Linked DNA regions of Homo sapiens: regions 1, 2, 3, 4, 6 and 7 are each linked to region 5. Evidence: promoter capture Hi-C in 16 types of primary human blood cells and fetal thymus (Javierre and others, 2016). All regions are on one chromosome and are shown on one strand. The core of a region is centred on a gene start or on the middle of the fragment in contact, and the rest is flanking DNA. Distances in the headings are between cores, read along the strand shown.

The links. The method cuts DNA at HindIII sites, captures the fragments that hold promoters and counts their contacts. A CHiCAGO score of 5 or more calls a contact.
Region 1: a fragment that was not itself captured here is called in contact with the fragment with the promoter of RMDN1 in region 5 in 2 of 17 cell types (total B cells and naive B cells); the score reaches 8.6 in total B cells.
Region 2: a fragment that was not itself captured here is called in contact with the fragment with the promoter of RMDN1 in region 5 in 4 of 17 cell types (neutrophils, naive CD8 T cells, naive CD4 T cells and 1 more); the score reaches 8.2 in neutrophils.
Region 3: a fragment that was not itself captured here is called in contact with the fragment with the promoter of RMDN1 in region 5 in 2 of 17 cell types (total B cells and naive B cells); the score reaches 9.2 in total B cells.
Region 4: a fragment that was not itself captured here is called in contact with the fragment with the promoter of RMDN1 in region 5 in 4 of 17 cell types (neutrophils, total B cells, non-activated CD4 T cells and 1 more); the score reaches 10.7 in neutrophils.
Region 6: a fragment that was not itself captured here is called in contact with the fragment with the promoter of RMDN1 in region 5 in 1 of 17 cell types (total B cells); the score reaches 5.9 in total B cells.
Region 7: a fragment that was not itself captured here is called in contact with the fragment with the promoter of RMDN1 in region 5 in 2 of 17 cell types (M0 macrophages and naive B cells); the score reaches 7.4 in M0 macrophages.

Annotation. Positions count from the first base shown.
Region 1 is chr8:85,455,473-85,458,320 of GRCh38, forward strand. All of the region lies in intron 2 of CA3-AS1 (CA3 antisense RNA 1), which reads right to left. Among named protein-coding and RNA genes, the nearest start is that of CA2, 7.1 kb to the right of the region's middle. The HindIII fragment of the contact is 4,794 bases long and covers 1-2,848 here.
Region 2 is chr8:85,211,241-85,214,361 of GRCh38, forward strand. E2F5 (E2F transcription factor 5) reads left to right here. Exons shown (of 8, transcript NM_001951.4): 7 at 917-964; 8 at 2,513-3,121. The coding sequence ends at 2,622. RBIS (ribosomal biogenesis factor) reads right to left here. Exons shown (of 4, transcript NM_001099673.3): 4 at 2,808-3,121. Among named protein-coding and RNA genes, the nearest start is that of RBIS, 7.6 kb to the right of the region's middle. The HindIII fragment of the contact is 4,250 bases long and covers 1-3,121 here.
Region 3 is chr8:85,189,976-85,192,984 of GRCh38, forward strand. The region is part of intron 1 of E2F5 (E2F transcription factor 5); the gene reads left to right. Among named protein-coding and RNA genes, the nearest start is that of E2F5, 14 kb to the left of the region's middle. The HindIII fragment of the contact is 939 bases long and covers 932-1,870 here.
Region 4 is chr8:85,233,532-85,236,817 of GRCh38, forward strand. The region is part of intron 3 of LOC124901969 (a long non-coding RNA gene); the gene reads left to right. All of the region lies in intron 1 of LOC105375936 (a long non-coding RNA gene), which reads right to left. Among named protein-coding and RNA genes, the nearest start is that of CA13, 10 kb to the right of the region's middle. The HindIII fragment of the contact is 1,402 bases long and covers 701-2,102 here.
Region 5 is chr8:86,507,323-86,510,458 of GRCh38, forward strand. RMDN1 (regulator of microtubule dynamics 1) reads right to left here and starts at 1,364. Exons shown (of 10, transcript NM_016033.3): 1 at 1,170-1,364. The coding sequence starts at 1,298. RefSeq lists an enhancer at 1,109-1,278. The HindIII fragment of the contact is 14,106 bases long and covers 1-3,136 here.
Region 6 is chr8:85,102,166-85,105,490 of GRCh38, forward strand. The region is part of intron 1 of LOC105375933 (a long non-coding RNA gene); the gene reads right to left. Among named protein-coding and RNA genes, the nearest start is that of LRRCC1, 3.4 kb to the right of the region's middle. The HindIII fragment of the contact is 160 bases long and covers 1,362-1,521 here.
Region 7 is chr8:85,295,193-85,298,452 of GRCh38, forward strand. No RefSeq gene overlaps it. Among named protein-coding and RNA genes, the nearest start is that of CA13, 51 kb to the left of the region's middle. The HindIII fragment of the contact is 2,750 bases long and covers 332-3,081 here.

The DNA.
Region 1 (2,848 bases), core at 337-2,836, 1.1 Mb before region 5:
AGGAGAAGAAAAAAATTGAAAGATAAAGTCGACTTCCAAACATTGCTCAAGAGAAATGATACTAGACATGGCTGTGAATACTGAAGGAAAGGGCTTATCGGGCACAAGCACAGTGCCCAACACACTGGGCATGAAATACATGTCGAACAGTGATATCAGTGCCATAGGAAAGAAGGAACAGATAGCAGGACTGAGGGTACAGGCGACCTGCAAAACACGGCTCTGGGTCACCTGGGTCTTTGGGTCAGCAATGGACTCCAGACGCTTTTTGAATGATGTAAGGCCCCTGGGACACAGTTCTTCCACATGTTCCTACAACACTGCATTTTTAAAAAATAAAGTATATATTCACAGTATTTTATTATTTTATATTTTATAAAATATAAACAAAGTAGAAAACTTTAGAGGCTAAAAAGTTAACTATAAGTAGAATTTCTCATATTTTCTTCCTGTCATGGAGCAGTCATCATGTGCACCCCTGAAGTGTGTGCAGGGTCATGTGGGGGGCAGCTGGTGCAGAGTTGAATGCTAACAAAACAGGCTACAGAGTCTCCTGCCAACTGGTCCGCTTTGTTCTGTCCTGTGGTTTCTCACCAGCCATGCTGGCTTACTATCTTATTCACTGACTCACTGAGTGGGGATTAACTGAGAGTGGAAGTAGAAGGAGATAATTCTATAACAAATCTTTTAAAAAAAGAGCCATTAAGACTGCTGTGAATTGTTTCATGGTTGAAGGAATGGAGGGATGGATGGATGGACAGATGATGCAATGAAACTCCTAAAATACTGAATGCCAGTCTAGGTTCATGAGCTACTGGGAGCTGTGGCCTCATCCTAGGAAGGTCAGAGACTGGCATGTCAATGAGTTCTTGGAGGAACAGCACACATTTTTGACTCATCCAGTTTTGATCTTGGGTTGGGTGGCTTTTTGAATTTGGTTGTAACTCTTTTGGCTTGGTCAAAGACAGCAAAAGATTTAAAAAAAAAGAAAGAAAAAAGCAATCACAATACATTGGTCAAGGGAAATATATTGTACTATTCCTTCTGTTTATTAAAATATTTAAATGACATTTATTCATTCAAGTGTGTATTATTTTCTAGCCATTGTACTCAGATGGAAGAGAGAGAGAAAGAGAGATAGAGACACTAATAGAAGCACAGAGCTAACGGCGTGGAATAATCTTTAAAAGTTTGTGTGAAATGGTAAAAACACATACAATCTAACGAGAAGCAAAAAAGTGCAAAGAAAATGCCATGGGGGTTCACAGCCAGTGGCAATTTTCTTAAGTTATATACTATTTCTATTTCCCCAAATCTTAACTTTGAGTAGTTCAAAACTTTTTAAGACATCTTTTCATGCATATAGATTTTCTTTCTTCTTTAGAATCAACCTGGATAAACACAAATGAGAAAACTACAGTTATAAAATGTAATTATCTTTGTTTCCTATAGCCTATCCACATATGTTATAGGATTATAAAGTGCTGATTTTCCACTTGTATACTCTTAAGACTGTTGTCAGTTAGTGACACCGGTGAATGAGGACTCCTGCCCTTGAACAGGAGGAAAAAATGTATTTGTAATGCCTACAATTCCCCTGGCATGGAAAATGTTAAATTGTTCTTATAACTAAAGGGAAGTCAGAAATTCCCCTATACAAAATGGTGATTTATAAGCAAAAGAGAAGTTTAATCATGTGGCGAAGCTAATATTAACTTGACCAAACCACTGTGATTTAGGTGCAAAGCCATCATTGGAAATGTGTTGAAGCAAAGTGAATAGACAATAATCTTAAGGTGTAGAGGCTGGATTTTGTTCTTTTCTACTCAATCCAATAAACAAAAGATGAGTGAGGGAGTATTATGGGCAAAGCCCTGTCCTAGGGCTCACATGTTGCTGGATACATATGCAACTCTAACACAGACCTTTTAGAAAAGCATTACCTTATGTATACTCTTAAGGTAGGGTTCCAAAATCTTGGTACTGTTAACGTTTTGGACAGAAAAATTCATTGTCGTCAGTGGGTGATTCTCTGCATTGTAGGATGTTTAGCAACATCCCCGGCCTCTATCCACTAGAGGCCAATGGCACACAGTCCCTCTCTCCCCCCGCTGTGAAAACCAAAAATGTGTCCAGACATTGTCAACATCCCCCTGGGGAGCAAAACTGCCTCCAGTGGAGAACCTATGTTCTAAGAAGAGGTGGACTTTTATTTCTATTAGATTGATTATAGTATCACATGTGGCAGCTGTTCTGGAACATAAAATACTTAAAATGTATACTTTGCATATTTTTAGTGTAATTGTCCCACTTAATATTTCTTCCAGTTCTGGTTGAAAGTGAAACTAGGTAATGAGCTTGCAATCTATCCACTACTCTTCAAAACTAAATAGATTCTATTACTTATAGAAGAGTTAAGTGTTACTAGTTATTATGAAAAAACAAAGACACATTCAGAAACTAAATTTTTAAAAGTCTGAAAAGCTATTTACTAAGGGAAGTTGAATTCAACTGTTTATTATATGTAAAGTTATTGTTATCCCCTGCTACCCCAAATAGTTAAAAGGAGTTTGGCAGGAAACCCTAAAAATGGCCAGCATTTTGATAGACATTCTATTTTATAGAGGAGTACTGCTCACATAATCTTAATGCATTGCTATTACATCACCACGAGGCAGTTGCCTTCATAAGCTCCTTGAAGGTATTTCGCTGGCCCTCGGGGAGACCACATAGCAGATGGCTAACAGTTCAAACTGTTTGGTTTCATACCTGGCCCCATCACTTCCTAGCTGAGTTACCTGGGGTAATCTGACCTACCTCTATGCCTCAATGACACCAGCTGTAGAGT
Region 2 (3,121 bases), core at 378-2,877, 1.3 Mb before region 5:
AAATTAAAAATTAGCTAGGCATTGTGACGTGTGCCTGTGGTCCCAGCTACTGGGGAGGGAGGCCAAAGTGGGAGGATTGCAAGCCTGGGAGGTCAAGGCTGCAGTGAGCCCTGACAGCACTTAATGTACTCCAGCCTGAGTGACAGAGCGAGATCCTGTCTCAAAATAAATAAATAAATAAAAAGGCTAAAACAGTGATTACAGTGAGATCAGGAAGAGAAATAACGAACAGATTTGAGAAACACTGTAGGCAAAATAACATTTGATGTGTGAGATCTGGAGATAAAGTTAACAGGAATGGAAAGTGATGTTGAAGTTTTAAGGTTGAATAACTGGGAGAATTATGAAACTACTGACTAAAACTGAGTCAGTTTTGGTAGAATGATGATGAGGTTTGTTGTTGTTTTTTTTTTTTTTTTTTTTTTTTTTTTGGCAGGGTCTCACTTTGTCAGCCAGGCTGGAATGCAGTGGCGCGATCTCAGCTCACTGCAGCCTCAAGTGATCCTCCCACCTCAGTCTCCCAAGTAGTTGGGACTATAGGCACGTGCCATGAATGTCTGGCTAATTTTTTTGTATTTTTTGTAAAGACGGATTTCACTATGTTGCCCAGGCTGGTCTGAACTCCTGAGCTCAAGCAATCCGTCCACCTCACTCAGCCTCCCAAAGTGCTAGAATTATAAGCATGAGCCACCATGCCTGGCAGATAATGAGTCTTTTGGTCTTCGTCTGGAGTTTGGAAGTTTAAAAGTAATGCCAGGCACAGAGTAAGCGCTCATGAAAACAACCTGTCCACAAAGTACTAGTACTTTAAATAAATGTGCATGTCAGTCAAGCTGCTGCTGTGACTACTTGTGTTTAAATATGAGTATCTTTTACTGTTAACAGAAATATAACAAAACTTTATTACTGTTTCCAGCAGGATCTATTAGTGGAGATATCATTGATGAGTTAATGTCTTCTGACGGTAAGTAGGTTAAAATTTTACTAACTCACTTATCAGTAATGCTTCTGTGGAATTTATAAGTGAAACATGATTTAAAAGAAATGAACATATATTTGCTACCTGCTTTACTATGAAGATTCATGAAAATTCTCCCTTAACACTTACAGTAAGTAATAGGCAACCTTCAGAATTTATTTTTCTTTGCTTGCATTTTGAGGGAAAGGAATCCATATGGGGATACTTCTCACCTTCATTGAAAATAAACTGTTAGCCCTTTCCACTCCTGAAGGATCTGGTCCAAGAAGAGTAAAATAACTTGTCTAAATCAAGCAACTGATCTGAACACCTGCCTTTGTAAATACCCCTACCCAGGCCAATTTCAAGCTGCCAATGGGAAGTCACTGAATTAGTATTAATATTAACCATGTTGTCATCTAACCTGAAAAATTATTAAATATCAGTTAGCTACAATATGCTAATTACTTTAATAATTTCTCTCCTTCTGTAAGTTCTTGGATCAGAGTCCTACTACCTAACAAATAAAGTAGAAACCTACGAAGTGGTAGCAGTTAAGTTAGCAAATGTTATAGTAACTAGAGATGTACTAAACATGTATGTAGAAGCAGAGAACATCAGCAAACTTTGTAAGTCCAGTTCATTCTTCTGTTTGCAAAGTGGAAAACAAAACACTTTCATTAGTGTTCTGTTTTTTTTTTTTAAGGCAGAGTCTCCCTCTGTCATCCAGGCTGGAGTGTCATCCAGGCTGGAGTGCAGTGGCATGATAGCTCACTGCAACCTCCACCTCCTAGGTTCAAATGATTCTCCTGGCTCAGCCTCCCGAGTAGCTGGGATGACAGGCACCTGCCACCACACCTGGCTACTTTTTGTATTTTTAGTAGAGACGGGGTTTCACCATGTTGGCCAGGCTGGTCTCAAACTCCTGGCCTCAGGTGATCCACCTGCCTCAGCCTCCCAAAGTGTTGGGATTACAGGCATGAGCCACTGCACCTGGCCTCGTTAGTGCCTTTTAGTTATATTACCTTAGTGATAAGTTCAACCAATAAAAAATTTAATTTCTAGGCCGGGCACAATGGCTCATGCCTGTAATCCCAGCACTTTGGGAGGCCAAGGCGGGCGAATCACGTCAGGAGATCGAGACCATCCTGGCTAACATGGTGAAACCCCATCTCTATAAAAAAATAAAAAAAATGAGCCGGTCGTGGTGGCAGGCACCTGTAGTCCCAGCTACTCGGGAGGCTGAGGCAGGAGAATGGCGTGAACCCGGGAGTCGGGAGCTTGCAGTGGGCCGAGATCGAGCTACTGCACTCCAGCCTGGACGAAACAGGGAGACTCCATCTTAAAAAAAAAAAAAAAAAAAGAAAAAATTAACTTCTGTTTCTCAATCTAATATCAATATTCAATGTACAAATTGTTACTAAATGAGAATATTTCAAAATACACATTACACAAGACTTTAATTTGGAATGATGTATTTGAGAGTATTTTGTTAAAGATCATTAACCGTATGTAGAAACCATCTTTAACACTAAATTTGTTTTTTGTTCGCAGTGTTTCCTCTCTTAAGGCTTTCTCCTACCCCGGCAGATGACTACAACTTTAATTTAGATGATAACGAAGGAGTTTGTGATCTGTTTGATGTCCAGATACTAAATTATTAGATTCCATGGAAACTTGGGACTGTTATCTACCTCTAACTGTGTAACATTTTAGACTTCTTAATAACCTAAATATTTAAAATAATGAATGTAACACCTTTTTTAGTTCACTGATTCTGAAGTGTTCTTCCCTAATACTTTCTTTACTTCACAAAACTTCAACCATAAAAACAAAGGGCTCTGATTGCTTTAGGGGATAAGTGATTTAATATCCACAAACGTCCCCACTCCCAAAAGTAACTATATTCTGGATTTCAACTTTTCTTCTAATTGTGAATCCTTCTGTTTTTTCTTCTTAAGGAGGAAAGTTAAAGGACACTACAGGTCATCAAAAACAAGTTGGCCAAGGACTCATTACTTGTCTTATATTTTTACTGCCACTAAACTGCCTGTATTTCTGTATGTCCTTCTATCCAAACAGACGTTCACTGCCACTTGTAAAGTGAAGGATGTAAACGAGGATATATAACTGTTTCAGTGAACAGATTTTGTGAAGTGCCTT
Region 3 (3,009 bases), core at 151-2,650, 1.3 Mb before region 5:
GGGACTCAAAAGCCAGATGTCATCAATATATATACAATTTAAGAATTTAAGGTTATATTATACCTCTACTTAGAACAACGTTCAGACACCTACAAGATCCTGCCTAGTCTGGCCCTCCTTCCTCTGCCACCTCGTCTATGCACTCCCTCTTAGATGACTCCAGTCTCACTGACTGTCTTTCAGCACTCTCACATGCCCTCTCCTCCTGCCTCAGGGCTGCTGCACAGGTGTTTCCTGCTGCCTGAAATGGACTTCTGCACGTGTGTGAAAACACACACACACACACCCCACCACCACCACTGCACCACACATACACAAACACACAACTGGCCACTTCTCCAAACCGTCTGGTCTTAGTTTTTTTTTTTCCTTCTTTTAGATGTTTTTGTAGGCAGAACAGTGGTCCCTCAAAGATGGTCATGTCCTAATTCCCAGGACCTGTGAATATGTTCAGTTACATAGGAAAGGGGAACTAAGGTCAAAGTTGCTAATCAGCTGATTTTAAGATGGGGAGATTTTTCCTTTTTTTTTTTTTTTTTTTTTTTTGAGATGGAGTCTCGCTCTGTCACCCAGGTTGAAGTGCAGTGGTGTGATCTCGGCTCACTGCAACCTCCGTCTCCCGGGTTCAAGCAATTCTCCTGTTTCAGCCTCCCTAGTAGCTGGGACTAAAGATGCCCACCACCATGCCCAGGTAATTTTTGTATTTTTAGTAGAGATGGAGTTTCACCGTATTGGTCAGGCTGGTCTCGAACTCCTGACCTCAAGTGATCTGCCCGCCTCAGCCTCCTAAAATGCTGGGATTACAGGCATGAGCCACCGTGCCCAGCCAAGATGTGGAGATTTTTCCTGGAATATCTGGCTGTGCCTGTTGTAATCAAAAAGTTCTTCAAAGTGGAAGAAGGAAGAAGAGAGTGAGAACCAAAGAGGTGGAAGCTTGAAAATGACCTTTCTGCTGTTGGAAGAAGGGGTCATGAGCCAAGAAGTGTGATAGCCTCTAGAAGCTGGAAAGGCAAAGAAATCGATTCTTCCTTAGAGCATCTAGAAGGAGCACAGCCTTATCAATATTTTGATTTTAGCTCAGTGAGATCCATTTTGGACTTCTGATCTATAGAACTATAAGATAATAAATTTGTGCTACTATTCAACCATTAAAAAAAAAGGAAATCCTGTCAGTTTTTGACGCCATAGAAGAACTTGGAGGATATTTTGCTAAGCAAATAAGCCAGGCACAGAAAGACACATGATCTCATATATAGAATCTAAAATAGTCAAATTCATAGAATCTAAGAATAGGATGGTGGTTACCAGGAGCTTGGGGAGATGTTGGTCAAAAGATACAAAATTTCAGTTAGACAAGAATAAATTTGAGAGATCTAATGCACATCGTGGTGACTATAGTTAATAACAATGTATTGCCTTCTTGAAAATTGCTAAGAAAATAGAATTTGAGTGTTCTTACCACACACAAAAAAAATGATCAGTATGTGAGATAAAGCATGTTAACTGGCTTGATTTAGCCATTCCACAATGTATACATATATCAAAACAACATTTTGTAAACAATATATATGATTTTTAATTACCAATTTTATTTAAAAATTTTGTTTTGTCTTAAACAACTACATTTCTGGTCATTTGTGACAGTTAGCAATGGAAACTAAGGGAATACAGTGTATACAGATGCTTGTCCTGACTCTCCTTAATCTGAAGTGACTGAAGTAGGTTCCTGCTTATTCTCAGCAGCCTGGGTTTTTGCCTTACTATCCTTTATCACAATATGGAATTATTTATTCCTTTGTTTGCCCATGTTTCGCTGTAGGCCAGGGACTGTCTTCTGTGTTACCAATGCTGACCCAGCCAGTCCATTATAAGCTTTCAACAAATAGCTATTAGTTTTGAGTTAAGTGAGAGGACATTCCTAGTCAGCAAGACAGTGTATGTCAGAGCCAAGAGGTAGAGAAACATGTGGGTACATTTGAGAGGCTATAAATCAGATGACTGTTGTGTGAAGAGAATATTGGATTGCAAGCAGATTTACAGGCTTAAACTAGGTTAGAGGCAGGGACAATAAGAAATGGAGAGATTCTGGTGACTTCACATTGTGGAAGTGACAGAACCTGGTGCTGAGTCTATGGGAATAGGAAAGTGGAAGTGACAGAACCTGGTGCGGAGTCTATGGGAATAGGAAAAATTATCAATGACTGCCATATTGCTGGCTTGGTAAATGGAGTAGATAGTGGTGATTTTCACTTAGAAGTTATCAAAAGGGAGAAAGAATTGAGAGGAATGGTAAATTCAGTTCTGGACATGAATAAGATGCCTGTGGGACATCCTAGGGTAGGTCTCTGGCAGCCTATCGGAATTATAGGTTTGGAACCCAAGATAAAGTTGAGGGCTTCCTGTTTGACTTGGATATGGTTGATTTATGAAGTTTATGTAAGGAAAATGGTTTTTAGCAAAAAGAGGAACAAGAATGGAACTCTGAAACACTAGTAGTTCAGTAGCAGAGGGCAGAAGAAAGGGAAAATAAGACAAGAGAAAAGTCTGAGGGTATGGTAACACCAAGACTAGAGAACGATGAGGGAGTAGCCAACCAGTGTCGAGTGCTACAGAGGATGCAACAGGACTTAATAGTGTCCACTGGTTTTAGTAACAGAGGTAATTAATGTTCCAGAAAACATTTTGGGCTTTTAGACAGTTTATACTAAAGAATTACTGGAGCAGAGCATAATAATAGTTTTTAAGTCCTTTACTTAATGTTGTCAAATTGCAAAAAGATGAAATTAGTTTTCAGTCCAGTAGCAGCATATGATTGTGACCAACCATCTCACAGCATCAGAAGTAGCATGGTATCTCTGAGTTTATGTCCTGACTTTACAATATTTAGTGCCCTTGGGCAAGTTACTCAGCCTTGGTTTCCTCTTTTCCAAAAATGGGACAATAATATTACCTACCACAGGTGGTTATGATTAAAGAAGTTATCAAAATGAGTTTTTATTTTTAAAGCAC
Region 4 (3,286 bases), core at 152-2,651, 1.3 Mb before region 5:
AAAGATAACTCTAAACAATATCCCGAGGCTAAGGAAGTTTCTAATGAGGGACAAACTTGGATGCCAGCCTCCGTTCCAAAGGGATTCAGATCACTGGAGAAGATACGGTTGCAACCCAGTGGATGACAGAGAAGTTTGCTGGGTTGTCCAGGTCTGAGCTGGTCCACAGTTACTAGACAAGCGAGAAACAGGGTACAGGTGGGCTAAGACTGGTGTGCAAGACTACAGGTATGCAGAGGGACTCAAAGCATTGGGAACAACTCTGGCTGACAGATGCATAGCCTAGAGTGGACAGTGTCCATGTCAGGAGGCCATGGGAAACACTCTTTGGGGTGCAGGCAGACTAGGGCTGGTGGGCAGGTATGCAGAGGGAGTTGGGGCATCTGCTTGCCAATAGGGTGGCATGAGGCCTGGAGTATGTGGGGTTTGTTTTGGGAGGGGCAGTGAGGTGGTCACTGGGTTAGGGCTAGGGTTGTCAGCTTACTGAGAGACTGCATACTCTTGAGTGTGCTGCTGGGCCGGAGTGCCTGGATGTCTCTATACACGGCCACATGTGGCTGCTGAAAGCAGCCCAGCAGGAACAAGAATAAAACAAAAAACACAGCATTCAGGAACCAGGAAGAGAAGTTCCTTTCTCCAGCAATGACCTTCTACTGAAGAAAGCTTAACATTATGCTTGCTGCAAAAAAGAAATGCTTAAAGCTTCATTATCACAGAGCTGGTAATGCAGGGTAAAATTAGACGTGAAAGACAATAAATTGATAACTGAAACACTCATTAATTTTTATTTATTTTATTTTTTTTGAGACAGAGTCTCACTCTGTCACCCAGGCTGGAGTGCAGTGGCATGATCTCAGCTCACTGCAACCTTCATCTCCCGGGTTCAAGCGATTCTCCTGCCTCAGCCTCCCGCGTAGCTGGGATTACAGGCACCCACCACCATGCCCAGCTAACTTTTTGTATTTTTAATAGAGACGGGGTTTCGCCATGTTGCCCAGGCTGGTTTCGAACTCCTGAGCTCAGGCAATCCGCCTGCCTCGGCCTCCCAAAGTGCTGGGATTTCAAGCATGAGTGCATTAATTTTTTTTTTTTTATTGACTAATGTTGAAATGATATTTTTGATGTATTAGGTTAAATAATATATATCATTAAGAATAATTTCACTTTCCTTTTTAGTTTTTAAAGTGTACCTAGTCAAAAATTTAAGTAACATATATGCTTAGCACTTGGACAGTTCTGGAATGGATGTCTAAGCTAGGTAGATTACTTCCATAAGAACTGATGGAAGGGCCTAGGAGGAGAGTGTAGAGAGAGGAGAGATTATAGGCCCCAAACCCCCAAATTTAAAGGTTGGTGTGATGATTAATTGTATGTGTCAATTTGGGCCATGAGGTGCTCGGATATTTGGTAGAACAGTATTCTGGATGTTTACATGAGGGTGTTTTTGGAGGACATTAACATTTCAACCAGTAGATGGACTAAGGCGGACTGCCTCCCTAAGGAGCTGGGCCTTATCTAATCAGTGAAAGCCTGAATAGAAAAAAAAAAAAAGCTGACCCTCTTCCAAGTAAGGGAAACTTCCTTCTGCCTGATTGTCTTTGGGATAGGGCATCGGCTTTTTCCTACTCTAGGATTCAAACTGAAACAATGGCTTTACCTGGGGTCTTGAGCCTGCTGGGCTCTGGACTGAAACTACACCATCAGCTCTCCTGGGTCTCCAGCCTCCAGCTTGCCTACTCACTCTGAATATCTTGGGACTTGTCAGGCTTCATAATGAAGTGAGCCATTTTTAATAATAAATCTCATTTTCTCCCTCAATACGTATACATGGTTTTGGAGAACCCTAACTAATACATAATACAGTTGAGTATAGAAAGAAGAACCCAAGGAATTCCAGAGAGCATGGGTGGGTAGCAAATGGAAAATGTAAATTCAGGAAGAAAGTTTCCTGCTAATGAGAAGAAATTCCAGAACATGTTAGTATGCTGATGGCAATAATAAAGAAGAGTGAATGGAGTTGGCAATGGAGGCTGTAAGGGATAAAATATTATATGTTTGGCAAGAGTGCAAGGTTTTGCTAGGCACATAGGGCTAGTGCAGCAAGCTTTCAGTAGTGAAATGGTGGCAACCAGGTCAGAATTTCTTGGAATGAGGGTAAATCACACCTTCCTCGGTGGTGAGATGGGGATATGGGTACTGCTTTTCATAGAACAAACTGTCCGGCCAGGGGGATGGTGGCTCACACCTGTAACCACAGCACGTTTAGAGGCCAAGGCAGGTGGATCACCTGAGGTCAGGAGTTCAAAGCCAACGTGGTGAAACTCCGTCTCTACTAAAAATACAAAAATTAGCCAGGTGTGGTGGTCCATGCCTGTAGTCCCAGCTACTCAGGAGGCTGAAGCAGGAGAATCACTTGAACCCGGGAGGCGGGGGTTGTGGTGAGCTGAGATTGTGCCACTATACTCCAGATTGGGCAACAGAGTGAGACTCTGTCTCAAAAAAAAAAAAAAAAAAAAAAGGAACAAATCTTCCTTTTCTAGAGGACAGAAAGGAATAGATAAACCTTACAAGAGCTGATGACAGAATGCCGTCATGCCCCTAATATCGCTCTGTGGTTATATTTCAAAGAGTTGACAGCAATAGAATGACATTGACTTATTCATTCTAGGCCAAGGAACTACTAAATTCTTTAACAGCCGAATTACTTTGGCATGAATTATCTGGACTTTTCAACACTGATCTGATGTTTATACAAGTGTATTTCCTTTCAAATAGTCTTGATGCTTCCTTTTTCTCTTTCACACTTTACCTACTTTTGTAATATGCACAAATAAGATATGAAACACTACAAAATAGGGTGTAGATAAATTTCGATTAGAAAACTGTATAAAATTAAACAAAAGAACAAAAATGTAGAAATTGGGTTTTAGCAATGTGTTCTTATCTGACAATATAGGACAAAGAAATGTTTGGCTCTAGTTTCCGAAAGCTATCATTGGAGAGGTGACTGGGGAAGAGATTTATTGAAGTTATCCTTTCAATTTTGGTCTGAGAGTCCTCATCTTGGTGTGAAACCTTGGTCACCTGAGAAAGTCCTTTAACCCTTTTGAGTCTCAAATTCCTCTTTGGGAGATTGCATTATGTAAGACTAACCTTAGGATAACCTTAGGAATAAGAAAATAAAGAAATCGAAACCCCATATAGTATCAGCTCCATAAAGTCAACAATCTCCACAAGCTATCAAGTGATAAGACATTCTTGTGGGTAGTACATCCTGGTTGTACAA
Region 5 (3,136 bases), core at 114-2,613:
AAAAATCACACTCCTGCTGGAAAGGAAGAGCTACAACTTATTTGCTACAACTTATTTGCAAATGCATGGATATTGCAAATTGTATGAAGTAAAATATGAGACACCAACACATAATAAAAATGAATCTTACAGACAAGATTATCATATATAGTAATTACTACATATAAAAATGTACATGGCTAACTTTTAAATTTTTTTGTAGAGACAGGGTCTCACTGTGTTGCCCAGGCTGGTTTCAAACCCCTGGACTCAAGCAATCCTTCCGCCTCGGCTTCCCAAAGTGCTGGGATTACAGGCTGAGCCAAGGGGCCAGGCCTAAAATGGGACTTCAAACTCATCATTGTTCCAATTTGAAAACTTACGGCTAACTAGTTTCATACTTAGAACTCCTCCCATCTCTCTGCCTATATTATCTATAACCTCCCCATTTGGTTATAAACTTCCAAGGAAGGGGAATATGCCAAATTTTAACCACCCCTCCCCACCATCAGTCCCATAATAATTCTGAAAGATTTTAACTGAGCAGTTAAAAATTTGAGTTTAAAATAATGAAACCCCTAGTTCATGTGAAATATATCATATGCATTAATGCCATTCCAATTCCCTGACAAGAATAAACAGAGGCCCACGAGCAGTCTAATAGAAATACCAGAACTGAGACTACAACATGCCGACAACCTTCATTGACGTTATGCAGATACAACGGGCAACTGAGAAATAAACATTTTTAAACAAAAACCTAAACAGTATGAAATCTCTGCTTCTGAGTCGTAGAACTTTTTAAATCACACACCACACTTTTCAAAGTCTGAAAGGGGCAGCCTCAAGCGCTGTTGTATCTGTCATCGCCTACAGGGAGAATAATTTCACAGCGGTCAAGGTTCTTTCCCGTCCTGTTTTACATTTCGCACAAGAAGGGCGGGTAGCAGGCAGCTTCTGGGGCGCGTGGGGGCAAACCCCACTCCTTCTCTGACAGCCCCAGTTAAGGATAGTGGAGGTTTGCAAAATGGAAGGGACCTGTCCGGGCGTTCCAGGCACAGTGGCCCCGAGTTCTTTCCTCGGTTCACCACATTCCTTAGGCAGCGCGGGGCCGCCACCACTTAAGTTAAGGGGGAGCCGGAACCCACTGAGTAGGAAGTGAGGAGCGGGAGCCAGGACCACGGGGGTACCTCGAAGCCGCGGAATCGACAGGGGCCGCAATGCCCGCGGCTGCCCGAAGTCCCCGCAGGGAGACGAGACCCCGGGGCGGCTCCACGTCGGAAAGGCAGAAGGCGCCACAGTCGAGCAGCCAGCGCCATGACCTGCAACTTGCGGGCTGACCCTGCACTACTTCAGGCAGCTACGGAGGCGGGCGGGGCTAAAGGAGATTCAATCCTTCCGGAAAGAACCGCGCCCGCCCGCCTCCTGCACAGCACCTCTTCCGCCTCCTGCCCAGCACCTCTTCCGCCCCCATGGTTTCCGGTGCACGGGCTTAGGGGGTGGGAAATACCCCGATTGGGTGGGACTTAATGGACTTTCCGCGCCTGCGTCCAGGACTGAGGCCGTGAGAGCGCTCTCTTCAGGCGCTCTGACTTGTTTCTGCTCCATCTCTCTAGGGGGTCTTTCATGGTTTGGGCACAAGGATTCGTCGCCAGAATAGAACTGAAAGCTCGGAAATAGACCCGAGAATACAAGTATGCCAGAAAAAAAATTGTCATTTTAATTATCTGCTGCCTTCAAAAGTAGATTGAATCTTGGTACTAGTGGGTCTTTTTTGGAAGTAAATAATTGGAAGAATTATGTTGCCCAACATGAAGAAGGGAAAGTCTCAGTCTCTTCGACTGAGCGACTCAAGGGGGTAGATTCAAGAGAGAGTCCAGAGCAAAGAAACAAAAAATGCAAAGCGTTTTGGGAAGAGGAACTAGCGGGAGGAGGCCTCTGGAAAGGATACTGATGCCCTTGAATGCTAGGGCATGTGTAGTAAAAAACAGAAACAAAAACAAACCCTGGTCTCCCCTAAAATTCTTCAATAAGATGTTTTACTTACTCGAGCAAAGTATTTTATTTTACTCGAGTAAAATAAAATTTCTTGCTCGAGTGGAATTCTTTTGTGGGAAAATGAAGAAATTTTGGATCCTACTTGAGGCCTGATCAGGGTGGGTGGAAACACAGACTGCAAAGGGAGTACCTACTATATGGGTTTAACGAAAAATCTTATGGGTAATAAGGGAGGCGAGTCATGGTTTTAAAAAATTAGGTTGCATTTCTATGGTACTTTTAATACTGTATAGGGAATTAATACATAGTCGTATTGATCTTCCGAACTACCTTGTGAAGTAAGTGGTATCCCAGGTTTACAAATGAAAAAACTGTAACTCAAAGAGATGTATTAACCTAACCAAGGATATGTTAGAAGACAGGAATCCATGTCTTTCTACTCTGAGTCCAGTGCTCCTTCTACTATATGATTGCTACCTCCACTAGTCCCATTAAATCAGCTGTATTTCTTTAGGATTATGTCTTTAAAGTCTATCTTTAAAAATATATAGATCTCCTTCCCAACTTCTGAAACCTAGCTGTTTTTTCCCAAAGACAGAATCACTTTTATTTTATGCATTTCTACTGGCAGCTACCCCCTCAACATTGCTAAATGTTTATGCCACTGGATACCATGATAACAGTGAAATTAAGTTTCTGATATCTCTGCTAGAGTGAATTTGTAATTAAGTTTTTAGCTTTGAAAAAAAAATTAGATCCTAAGAAAAGTTGCAGGAACTCCCATATATTCTTCAGCTAGATTCAGCCATTGTTACCTTTTTCTCACATTTGCTTTATCTTTCTTTACATATCTTACCTATAATACACATATTATATTCCTAGTATTTTCTGTTGTAAGGCCTTTTGAGAGTAGATTACAGATATCATGACTCTTCAGTCTTAGAAACAAGACATTCCCTTACTTAGTCCCAGTTTAATTATCAAATTCAGGAAACTGAAATTGACAGAATACTATTATTTAATATACAAATTTTGTTTAATTCCCAATACTGTCCTTTATACTAATGATTTTTTTTTCTAAATTCAAGATCAAATCTTGATAATGTCTTGCATTTGTTATGTTTCTACTTTCTTTAAATCTTTAAATCGTCAGCCTTGG
Region 6 (3,325 bases), core at 192-2,691, 1.4 Mb before region 5:
TGATACATGAGCTTGAGATGGCTTTCTGTTTGACTGTGTCCTCTTCAATTTCCCTCATCAGTCTTTTGTAGCTTTTCTTGCAGAGAAAAGCTGCCTTTCACATCCTTGGCTAAATTTATTTCTAAGTCTTTTATTTTTATAGCTATTGCAAATGGGATTGCCTTCTTGGTTTCTTTATCAGCTTGTTCATTATTAGTGTATAGAAATGCTACATTTGTGTATGTTAAAATTCTATGCTGCAACTTTCCTGAATTTATTTATCAGATCTAAGAGTTTTTTGGTAGAGTCCTTAAGTTTCTCTAGATATAAGATTATGCCATTTGCAAACAGGGACGATTTGACTTTCTCTTTTCCAATTTCAATGTCTTTTTATTTCTTTATATTGCCGATTGGTCTAGCTATAATTTCCAGTAGTATGTCAAATAAGAGTGCTGAAAGTGGGCACACTTGTCTTGTTCCAGTTCTTAGAGGAAAGGATTTCAACTTTTTCCCATTCAGGATGATGTTAGCTGTGAGTTTTTCATATACGGCCTTTATTATATTGAAGTATGTTCTTTCTATGCCTAGTTTGTTGAGAGTTTGTATCATGAAAAGACTGAGTTTCATCTAATGCGTTTTCTGCATCTACTGAGATGATCTTATGGATTTTGTCCTTCATTCTGTTGATATGATGTATCACATGTGTTCATTTACATATATTGAACAATTCCTGCATCCCTGGAATAAATCCCACTTGATTATCTAGTATCTGTTTGATGTGCTGTTGGATTCAGTTTTCATTGAGGATTTCATTGAGGATTTTTGCATCTGTTCATCAGGGATGTTGGCCTGTAGTTTTCTTTATTTTTTGCATCCCTGTCTAGTTTTGGTATCAATGTAATGCTGGCCTTGTAGAATGAGTTAGGGAGAATTCCCTCATGTTCAATTTTTTTAATAGCTTGAAGAGAATTGGCTTTGGTTCTTCTTTGAAAAATTGGTGGGAGTCAGCATGAAGCCATCCAGTCCTGGAGTTTTTTTGTTGGAAGACTTTTTATTACTGATTCTAGCTACTAATTATTGGTCTGTTTAGGTTTTCTATTTCTTCCTGGTTTAACCTTGGTAGATTGTATGTATCAAGGAATTCACCCATTTCCTTTAGGGTTTCCAGTTCATTACCATACAGTTGTTCATAATTGTCTCTGACACTCTTTTGTATTTCTGTGGCATCAGTTTTAATGCCTTCTTCTTCATTTCTTATTTTGTTTACTGGGATCTTCTTTTTTTCTTGGTTAGTCTAGCTAGTGAATTTTGTTTGTTATCAATTTTGCTCATCATTTTTTTAAAAAAAACATTTTGTTTTGTTGATCCTTTGTATTTTTTTAAGCTTCTATTTCATTTAGCTCTGCTCTGATCTTCATGATTTCTTTTCTTCTGCTAATTTTGGGTTGGGATTCTTCTTGCTTTTCTAGTTCCTTGAGGTGTAACATTAAATTGTTTATTTGAAATCTTTCTACTTTTTTGATAAAGGCATTAATTACTATAAGCTTCCCAGTTAGCATTGCTTTTGCTGTACCCCAGAGGTGTTGGTATGTTGTGTTTTGGTTCTTACTGGTCTAAAAAATTTTTTGATTTCCTCTTTAATTTCTTTCTTGCTCAATAATTTGGGAGCATGTTCTTTAATTTCCATATATTTGTGCAGTTTCTAAAGTTCCTCTTGTAATTGATTTCTGGTTTTGTTTCAATGGAGTCTGAGAAGACACTTAGCATTATTTATTTTTAAAAATTTTGTTGAGCCATTTTTGGTGTCCTAACATGTAGTCTGTCCTGGAGAATGTTCCCTATGTTGATGAGAAAAATGTGCGTTCTCTAGCTCTTGGATGAAATTTTCTGCAAATTTCTGTTAGATCCATTGGGTATAAAGTGCAGTTTAAATTAAATGTTTTTTGTTTGTTTGTTTGTTTTCTGTCTAGATGATCTATGTAATACTGAGAATGGGGTGCTTAAATCCCCAACTATTATCCTGTTGGAATCTCTCTCTCTCTCTTTAAATCTAATAATATTTGCTTTATACATCTGGGTGCCTAGGTGTAGAGTGCATATATGTTTAGAATTGTTATATCCTCTTGCTGAATTGATTTTTTTTTTTTTTTTTTGAGACAGTCTAACTCTGTCGCCCAGGCTGGAGTGCAGTGGTGCGATCTCAGTTCACTGCAACCTCCACCTCCCGGGTTCAAGTGATTCTCCTGTCTCAGCCTCCTGAGTAGCTGGGATTACAGGCACACGCAGCCAGCCCCTGCTAATTTTTTGCATTTTAGTAGAGACGGGGTTTCACCGTGTTACCGAGGCTGGTCTCAAACTCCTGAGCTCAGGCAATTCACCCGCCTCGGCCTCCCAAAGTGCTAGGATTACAGGCATGAGCCACTGTGCCCGATCCCTTTATCATTACATAGTGACCTTTCTTGTCTCTTTTTTACTATTTTTAACTTACAGTCTATTGTATCTAATATTCATATAGCTATTCCTGCTGGCTTTTGGTTTCCATTTGCATAAAATATCTTTTTTCTTCCCTTTACTTTCAGTCCATATGTGTCTTTACAAGTGTGATGAGTTTCTTCTAAGCAGACTATTGTTGGGTCATTTTTTAATCCATTAATTCAAGCTATATCTTCCAGGTGGAAAATTTATTCCATTTGCATAAGGTCATGATTGATACGTGAGGGCTTATTCCTGTCATTTTATTAATCCATTTCTGGTTATTTTTGTGTATTCCTTGTTCCTTTCCTTCTCTATCATTGTTTATGATTGTGGTTTGGTGGTTTTCTGTAATGGTAACATTTGAGTCCTTTCTCTTTCTTGTGTGTTTGATCTACCAGTGGACTTTATATTTTTGTGTGTTTTCATGCTGGTAAATATTGTCCTTTTGTTTCCATATGTAAGACTCTCATGAGCATTTTTATAGGTCCAGTCGACTGGTGATGAATTCTTTTGCTTTTGCTTATCTTGGAAAGACTTTATTTTTCCTTGGTTTATGAAGGATAACTTTGTTGAGTACTTGGCTGGCTGTTTTTTCTTTCAGCACTTTGAATTTATCATACCATTCTCTGCCGGCTTGTAAAGTTTTTGGTGAGAAATCCACTGTTAGTTTGTTGAGGGTTCCCTTATAAATGACTAGATGTTTTTCTCTTGCTGTTTTTAGAATTCTTTGTCTTTGACTTTTATCAGTTTGACTACAATGGGCCATAAAGGAGACTTTTTCTTTTCTTTTCTTTTTTGCGAAAGAAGACATGCAAGCAGCCAAGAAACATATTTTTAAATGCTCAACATCACTAATAATCAGAGAGATGTA
Region 7 (3,260 bases), core at 457-2,956, 1.2 Mb before region 5:
CAAGAAGAATAAGAGAGCTCTGTTTGTTTTATTTGTTATGAGAACACACTTCATTTGTATTCAAGCAAAGACTTTTTGTCATATATAATGAAAGTGTATGCTTGTTAAAAATCAGTAAGATTGAAAAGGCTAGGAGGACATATTCCATTTTAACCTTTTTTTAAGATAAAGATCTCAGCTATATCTATTTCAGTATGCTTGAATGAGTCTCTGTAGACAGTTCATATTTCTTGTGAATGTGTCAGCTTATCATTAGGTCAGGTAGCATCTTTCAAATGACTTGGTGAAACTTAATTACATACTCTTGTTCTGTAATAATTTCATGTAGGTAAGCTTACATATGAAACACTTTGTAACTAAGTTGTAAATCAAAACCAAAATTTATCTATGCTTTTTCACCCTTGCCCACTTCCATTCCTCTTCAGTGCTTGACAGGGAATCAGAGAAATAGTGAATGCCTAATCCTGAATTTAATTATTTACCAGACATGGGTATATGTCGTGTTTCTGTCTCTTCACTTGCCTTCTGAGGTGAATGTCCTGGTTTCCTCCCTCCTCACCAGCTGTCCCTTTCTGGTCTGTTCTCTCTCTGCTTCACTTACTTCCTGGGTAATTTTTTTTTCTAGCCCCATGACTTTAAATGACATTTAAAAACATGGTTGATGTATACATATATATATACACGTGTGTGTGTGTGTATATATATATCATATATATGTGTATATATATATTCAGATGTATATACTATATATCATATATATGTATATATATTCAAATATATATACTATATATATGTGTGTGTGTATATCAGCATATATCAGATATATATATCCATTCCCAATCTTTCCCCTGAACTTGGAACTCATATACCCAACTGCCTATAAGACTGCTCCATGGAATGTCTGACAGACATGTCAACATTAGCATGTCCAGATCCCTCAATTCTGCTTCCCATCCCCTTGTTGTGCCTGCAACCTTCCCTTCCCAAGGATGCTCCATCTCAGTAAATGGCACCACTAGCTACACAAAACTCACAGTCATCTCTGTACTCTCTTTCGCTCACACCCAGATTGAATCTGCTAGCAAGTCCTGTGGATGCTAGTCTTAAAATATGGCTCTCAGCTGGTCTCTCTGCTCCACTCTTTACCCCCTACATTGTTCACACAGCGGCCAGGGTGATTCTTTGAAAAAGCAGGTCAGAGTGCTTCACTCCATTTGAGCTCCACACTGCAGTGACTTCCTATGACTCAGAACAAAATCTGCTGTGCCTATGATGGCATATAGAGTACTCTGTGATCTGTGCTCTTGTGGCTCCTGCCCCCCTTCTCTCCTGCTGTCCCATCCACCACTCTTCAGTCTTGACACCCTCGTTTTTCCTCTGCCAGGCCTTTTCAAGTCTTTACAGTGGATATTCTCTTTGCCTGCAATGCTCTTCCTCAGATACTCATATGAATCACTTCCTCATTCATTCAAATGTCACCTCTTCAAAGAGGCCTTCCCTGACCACACTTTCTAAGTAGCAGCCCTGTTACTTTCTTTCCCCTTACTCTGATTTATTATTTTTCATGTCATTTACAACATCATTAACATAATATTATTTATTTTTAAACATCAGTCTGTCTTACAAGAATGTAACCTCCTTAAGGAAGTGTTTTTCATTTTGTTAATCAAGAGTTTTTAGCACCTAAACCATGTTTGACTCATGATAGACATCAATAGGTGTTTATTTAATTAACCAATGCATATTTTTTCATGCACATTTGAACTAACGTATACATTGACAATATAATCCTTAATTTTCTGGATAAGTTGTGTGCATCTATAGAAGACTGGGTGTAAATCTACAATTATATGTCAGCTTTTATGTTATATTGAGTTCATGGGTGTTCCTTAAAAAATGCTTAAAAGATATTGCAGTTTTTAAGACGTTAATGCACCTATGCACATGCATATATTCACAAACTGTTTTCAGTAGTACTTTGAAATCCTCCTAAAAGTTTTCATGCAATGTTCAACAATATAAATCTTACTTTCAAGTAGCTGATTCATAGTGAAGATCGTTACTCACAATATGATAGATGCCATATTTCCCAGTACTCAGGTAGTCTCTTCATTACGGGCACCTTGTCTTCCAGAACAACACGCTAGGGTGAGAAACAGAGAAAGGGAGTGAGGGAGAGGATGGAGAGAATAAAATAAAATGTTCTTGCAGTAACTGGTCAGTACTTGAAAGGGAGAATATGCAGTAAAGGAGAAGGAGTATTTAACAGGAATTAAAGAAGCCTTAAGAGAAAACAATTATGTGAGCATTCATCTCCCTAAAAAAGGAAAAAGGAAGGTGCAGAGACAGCAGTGACTTGTTCCTCATCTTAACCACCAGGTGGTGGTGTCGCATCAGAAAGGCTGATTTGCACTACCTGGTAGCGGATGAGGCAATGAGGCACCATGACCATTACTTTACTCCCACCTGCTAGTGCAAGATTTCAGCCTCTTCCGAAGTCTCCCTCTCCTAACTATTTCTAAATATTCCCAAAGAGTGTCTCATTTGTGGTAATGAGTGAGTCAAGTCAGTTTGCACTTGGTGTCTCATAATTTCTTCTCTTTTGTCCTCACCTCCCTCTCTCCTCCTCCTACCTTCCAGGTGCATCACTTGGCCACCATTCCCTGTGGGAGCAGCTCTGCCACCTGCTCTGGGCATTGTTAATCCTCTGGGTCCCAAACTGAATCCACTGGGCCTTGCTTTTGCTGCTGCTAGGGAAGAGAAGGCAGAGAAGTATTCATTAACAGTAAACATTAGTTGTGCTCAGCCCTCTGCAGTCTACCTCTGCTAGGCATAAAATAAGGAGAAGTGGCCTCGGGTGAAAGCAGGTTTGGATTAAAATTTCCTAATGCCAAGGCTGCTTGAACGTTGGATTACTCTTCACCTATACTTCTATAAATGTGTAATCTTGTTATAAGTTTTCCACAAGTGGCATAGAGTCTCTTCTGTGAACACTGTTCTTCTGTGCAGGTGGGATGGACTAGATCAAGGGTCTTCAGCAGTTTTGATCAGCCAGTGGATTTCAAAGACCCATTAATTAAAAGCTTTTTAATCAAAAGCTTTCTTACAAAGGGCCCCTGTGTTAATCTTACCTCCCTGACCTTCTCTTTGGCACGCTCCATTCTTGTCGAGATTCCCAGTGAGGTTGGGATTCTTTGAAGGTTAGCTGGTGTTCTTTCTTCATTCCTTATTCAACTCCAGGTTTTCTGCTGGGTCAAGAC